Regions from separate parts of the Homo sapiens genome. Here region 1 is linked to region 2. The links are contacts of gene promoters, found by promoter capture Hi-C in human tissues and cell types (Jung and others, 2019). All regions are on one chromosome and are shown on one strand. Each heading gives the region's core, a stretch centred on a gene start or on the middle of the fragment in contact. The rest is flanking DNA. Distances are from core to core; before and after follow the strand shown.

Region 1 (3,027 bases), core at 39-2,538, 940 kb after region 2:
TTAAAGGCAAAAAATAATACCTGCGTGGCACTGTTCTGTACTTAGGTGCCACTCTTTCAATAAATATTTGCTGATGTGATTTGAAATGTGTGAAGTACTAAGCAATATGAAGAGAGCACCTTCCTTTAGCTAGTCTATGGCAATCTAATTTGCTATAGAGAAACCCTTATTTGATTATTCTTAATGGAAATTTTTGAATAGCTGTTAAGGTATTTGTTTAAAAAAATGATTATTTATAAACTATAAAACACTCAACACAGCATCCATTTGCATTGTTTTTGAAGAAATTATAACACCTACCAGTGTTTATTTATGGTAAATGGGATGAGGAAAAGGATACCAAATTTTATATCTGGTATGATTACAATAGAATAACAAATATATGAGAAAATAAAAGAATCATAGAAAAAAATGATCATGGTGATTGGGTTCTAGGTGATGGTTTTCACTTTTTATACTTTTCTTTACAAATTTTCTGCTGTGAGTGTACCTTACTTTTATAATGTTGGGGAGGATTTCTTAATGAAAATGCTGGGCCAGGCACGGTGGCTTATGCCTGTAATCCTAGCACTTTGGGAGGCTGAGGCAGGCGGATCCCTTGAGGTCAGGAATTTGAGACTAGCCTGGCCAACGTGGTGAAACCCCATCTCTATGAAAAATACAAAAATTAGCCAGAAATCACTTGAACCCAGGAGGCAGAGGTTGCAGTGAGCCGAGATCGTGCCACTGCACTCCAGCCTGGGCAACAGAGGGAGACTCCATCTCAAAAAAAAAAAAAGAGAGAAAACATTGTGCTTTGATTTGCTTTTGGAATAGGTCTCCATTTTCAGGGCAAGTTCACACTCATTAACATGCATTCATTCAGCCTCTGGTGTTTTAGATGCTAAGTGGATACATAGATGGAGTCTACTGTGTTTTTGAATGGTGTCAATTTTAATGATTAAATTGTTGCTTTAGCTCTTTTACCATACTTTTATGTGTCTTTGGAGGCTATGCAGAGTGTAGGTTTTTATGTTATATTCTTTATTGCATTCTGTTAATACTGTACATAAGGAGATCATTGGAGAGAGTACAAAATGAAAGAATAATTTGTAATAGCTTGCACTCAGTAGGTCCTAACTGAATCTAAGTTATTAACAGTGTGTGTCCATAATAGCCATATGCCAACAAAACATGACATAGGTTAGGTTGGATTATTATGATATTGATATGTGGACTATCTTTTTAATTTTTGTGCTTTTTTTCCCCCCTTCCCTCTAGATGATATGTTTGTTGACCTTCCATTCCCAGATGATATGGACAATGATATTGGCATATTAATGACTGGGAACCTCCATTCCTCTCCCAACTCTTCCCCAGTACCCTCCCCAGGCTCTCCTTCTGGAATTGGTGTGGGCTCTCACTTCCAGCATAGTCGGGTAAGGATGATTTGGAGTACGTTGTTTAAGACAACCATAGCCTTTAGGAAGATAATCCACTGGACATCTGATCATCTTGTTCCTACTTGCACAGTTCTTGATGGTCTGGGTCCTTGGTACAAGAGAAATAAGTGTGGGAAACTGACTATGGTTCCATTTTGAATAGAAGGCAGGAATTTGAAATAAATATGTTATTATTTCTGATGAATAAGTTTTATCAGAAGAATAGTCCTATTACAGATGCAAGGGTTTTTAATGCATTGTTTTCTTAGCAAAAATTAGTTCTAGTTGCTTGCTGCTTCCCAGTTTTTTAATGGTTTTATTTTTTGCCAAAATAGTGGCTTTTAAGAGATTAGTACAACAACCGTACTTACTCAACATGCAGAGTAATTGTGCTGATTGAAGAACACGTTGGTGATGGCTTGTTCTGAAAGGAGCCTGCCGTGCTCTTTGCGTGTCCTGGCTTAGTCATTTTGCAGCCTTCTTCTTTCTAGCCGACCTGCAGGAATGGCAAGAGCCGCCAGGAGATTGATTTTACAGATGTGTCCAGGTTAACGCCAGAGTATTAAGGAAAAAACCAGAGCTTACAACTGGTTTCATCTTTAAATATCTCAGGGATATTGGAGGTGGATGAACAACAGAAGATTTAAGAGTTAGAGGGTTCTGCCACAGCTTGTGGTAACTTTGCTTCAGTTAGATGATTCCTGCTGCATCACTGTATTGTACTGTTTATTTAAAATGTTATGAGACTGGGGAGTTAAGACTTTGAAAAATAGCTATGTCTGGTATCTTAGACTGAACAAGCATAAGCAGCCTGCTCACACTCATTTATTTAGACACAAAGATGGACATAAAGGACTTCAGTTTTCATCGGGGGGGGGGGGGGACTTTTATTCCCAGCACTGAATTTATTAGACGCTGGAGAGAAAAAAGGTTTATAGCTTAGATTAGTCACAGAGCAGGTAAGACCAGAGGAGGGCATCTCAGACTGTTCCCATGTTATACCTGCCCCTATTACCCTCTTCTGGAAGGAAGGGGTTTTAAGGGTCTTTGTTTCCTTTGCAGTACTTACCAGTTAATGATAATTTGTTCATGGGAAACGGTTGTGATAGGAACGAAAAACACAAATGTTACATTGTCTATTTTTTTAAAGTTGGGTTTAATTTGAATTCTGGAGGCAAGTAGCATAGCAGCTAAGAATGCATGCCCCACAGTCTGTTAAAGACAACTTTGAATTGCAGCTCTGGGCCTACGGGCTTTGTGACCTTGGACAAGCTAACTTCACCTCTCTTAGCCTGAGTTACCTTATCTGTGAAATGGAATAATAGCAACTACCTCCCAGTACCTGTTTTTGTAATTCAGTTTATGCATTAACAAAGAATTGGTTATTGAAGTTGTAATGTTAGTTGTGTAAGAAACAGAGGTATGCTGTATTTCTCCCTTTTTTTGGAGCCTTAAGCACTAAAGTCTTTAATTCAATGCCATGATTTAGACAGTGCTGTTCTGAAGCTAGCCAGGTGGCCTTTTTCAATCCTGAGCACCTGCAGCCAGGTGACCTCCAAGAGGCTTTCAGCATTTCCTTTTTCTGAACCATTAAACATTCTTTGAT
Region 2 (3,166 bases), core at 314-2,813:
AACTCCAGCCTGGGCGACAGAGCGAGCGAGACTCCGTCTCAAAAAAAAAAAAAAAAAAAAAGAATGATTCTCAATTGGGAGGATCACTTGGGCCCAGGAGTTTGAGACCAGACTGGGCAATACAGGGAGACCTTGTCTCTACCAAAAAATTTAAAAAATTAGCTGAGTGTGGTGGCGCATGCGTGTAGTCCCAGCTACGCGGGATGCTGAGGGAAGAGGATGGCTTGAGCCAGGCAGTTTGAGGCTGCAGTGGGCCGGGAGAGCAACAGTACACTCTAGCCTGGGCAACAGAGCAAGACCCTGTCTCAGAAAAGAAAGAAAGAAAGAAAAAAAAAAAAAAACAGGAAAAAAAAAAGTGGGTTCCCAATTGTAAAGCTGTAGGGACTTCCTTTGGGCCTAATTTAAATCAAACCATTAGAACCTGGAGCCTTGTCCTCTTAACCTGGGAGCCACGGATGCATTTCAGGTGTTCTTGATTTTCCCAACTTTCTGAAGGGGATTATTTTTAACGGACACAGGGTCCCCAGCTTCCTCCAGATTCTCCAAGGTATCCACGCCCCACAAAAAGATAAGAAACTCTATCCTAATGAAAGTGCCCAGGAGATTCTTCCTCCTCTTCTTCCTTTTTTTCTGAGATAATTTTTTTGAATACGTGCACGGTTACAAAAATTAAATAGTGCAAACAGTATACAAAGGTAAAATTACTTCCTATCCATCATCTGGGTCCTCCTTTTCAAAGGCAACCTTTGTTCAAAGTTTAGGTAGCCTTCAAGAGCAGGATTTCTCAACCCCACACTTACTGATATTTTGTCCTGGATAATTTTTTTGTGCGTGGTGTCCTGTACACTGTAGGATGTTCAGGAGCATCTCTGGCCTCTACCCACTAGATGCCCAGTAACATGCACACATACACACCCCGATGAGGCACCCAAAAATGTCTGCAGACACTGCCACATCTGGGGGAACAAAATCGCCCTGGTTGGGAAGTGCTGCTTCCAGAAAGACCCCTATGCAAGCACAAACATTGGTGTTTGTGCGTCTACTCATTTTCTCGGGCAACTAGTGGCACACAGTTACTCTCCAAATCACTGCAGGGGTTTGTCCTGGGGGCGGGGGCCGGCGCAGGCATGGGCGGGGGGGAGGCGACGGCCACTCACCAGGTCGCGGATGAGCTGGTCCACCAGCTGCTCCCCGCCCCCGGCGCCCTCGCGGGCCAGAGGAGAACGTGAGCGGCTCGCTACGTCCTGCCCCTCGGCCCGAGTCGCCCGCGCCGCCGGGGGCCTCCCCGCGCCCTCCAGGAGACGCTGGGCCAGCGCCGGGTCCCCCGAGGCCTGTTCGCCGCGCCCGGAGCCCACCTCCGGCCGCCGAGCCCGCCTCTCGGCAGCCTCGGGCCGTCGCCGCTTCTTCGGCGCCTGGGCCTGCGCCAGCTCCTCCTGCCAGCGCCGACGGAACTCATCCAGGCTGTAGTCGTCCATATTCGCCGCTCCCGGCGCTCCACGTTCTCCTCGGTTCCACCGGGTGCCACGAGACAGTCCCGCCCAGGGAAGTGTCCGCCGCGGCCGGAAGCCGCTGCCGCCGCCGCTCTAGGGTTCCGGGTGGGCGTCCACGCCCCCGCCACGCCCCCGGCGCTGCCCCTGTACGCACGTGGTGGTCCGGCTTGTGGCTTGTGGCGCCCAAAGCAGAGGTTTACGCAGCTGCCCCTCAGCCCGTCAGCTCTGCTGCCTATCACTTTTGCTAAGCTCTGACTTTGCGCCAAGCATTGTTCCTTCATTCAACAAACATTCATTCAGCAACTACTATATGCCAGGCACCAAGAATTCAGCATTTAAATCTGTAAAACAAAACAAAAACTCTGACGTCTTGGAGCATGCGTTTAAGTAGGGAGACTTTAAACAAAGAAATATGAACATTTAAATCAGTGATAGGTATTAGGAAGAAAACAAAATAAGGTAAGGTAAGGGGAGTAAGGATTGATAGTGAAAGTCTGTTTAAGATGTTATTTAAATTAAAATCTAAAAGAGAATCAACAGGTGGATAAAGAAACTGATATATACATATGGTGGAATACTACTCAGCCATAAAAAAGGAATGAATTCATGGCATTCGTAGCAACCTGGATGGGATTGGAGACTATTATTCTAAGTGAAGTAACTCAGGAATGGAAAACCAAACATCGTATGTTCTCACATATAAGTGGGAGCTAAGCTACGAGGATGCAAAAGCATAAGAATGACTTATGGGACTTTGGAACAGGGGAGGGGGACGAGGGGAGGGTGGGAAGGTGGGGAGGGATAAAAGACTATAACTTGGGTTCAGTGTATACTGCTCGGGTGATGCGTGCACCAAAATCTCACAAATCACCACTAAAGAACTTACTCATGTAACCAAATACCACCTGTTCCCAATAACCTGTGGAAATAAAAATTTTTTTTTAAAAATCTGAAAGAGAAACCAGCCAAGGGAAGGTCAGATCTTAGGAGAGAGATTTCCAGAAGGAAATCCAAGGGCTTTAAGATGGGAAAGAAAATGACATACGATGGCGTTCCACTTAAAAATGTTTTCTTTGCACCTGATATTCCCTCAGCAGGGAACTTTTCCCCCCACCTTGACTTGGTTAACTCCTACACATCTTTCATATCTCAACTCACATTTCACTTAATCTTCCAACCTCCACTCAAGAAACATCAGGTATCCCTGTTACTCATTCTCACAGCATCCTGTACTTCTCATCATAATACATAACACAATTTGTAATTTTATTTTTATGTATATATATATATCCCTTCCCTTCTAGATTGGCAACTCTTAGCTTTGAGACTGGTGATTAATACATGCTCAATAAATGGTTTTTTGTTTGTTTGTTTGTTTGGTTTGTTTTGTTTTTGAGACGGAGTCTCGCTCTGTTGCCCAGGCTGGAGTGCAGTGGCGCGATCTCGGCTCGCTGGAAGCTCCGCCTCCCGGGTTCACGCCATTCTCCTGCCTCAGCCTCCTGAGTAGCTAGGACTACAGGTGCCCGCCACCACACCTGGCTAAGTTTTTGTATTTTTAGTAGAGATAGGGTTTCACCATGTTGGCCAGACTAGTCTTGAACTCCTGACCTCAAGTGATCCACCCACCTCAGCCTCCCAAAGTGCTGGGGTTACAGGTGTGAGCCACCACTCCAGGC

What was found. Contacts are between HindIII fragments. The study calls those that stand out against the background at their distance.
Region 1: a contact is called between a fragment that was not itself captured here and the fragment with the promoter of FBXW8 in region 2, in 1 of the 25 tissues and cell types used here (bladder).

What each region holds. Positions count from the first base shown.
Region 1 is chr12:115,967,331-115,970,357 of GRCh38, reverse strand. MED13L (mediator complex subunit 13L) reads left to right here. Exons shown (of 31, transcript NM_015335.5): 28 at 1,261-1,418. Among named protein-coding and RNA genes, the nearest start is that of LINC02463, 83 kb to the right of the region's middle. The HindIII fragment of the contact is 6,936 bases long and covers 1-3,027 here.
Region 2 is chr12:116,909,347-116,912,512 of GRCh38, reverse strand. FBXW8 (F-box and WD repeat domain containing 8) reads right to left here and starts at 1,563. Exons shown (of 11, transcript NM_153348.3): 1 at 1,158-1,563. The coding sequence starts at 1,475. RefSeq lists silencers at 1,096-1,355, 1,516-1,735. The HindIII fragment of the contact is 14,688 bases long and covers 1-3,166 here.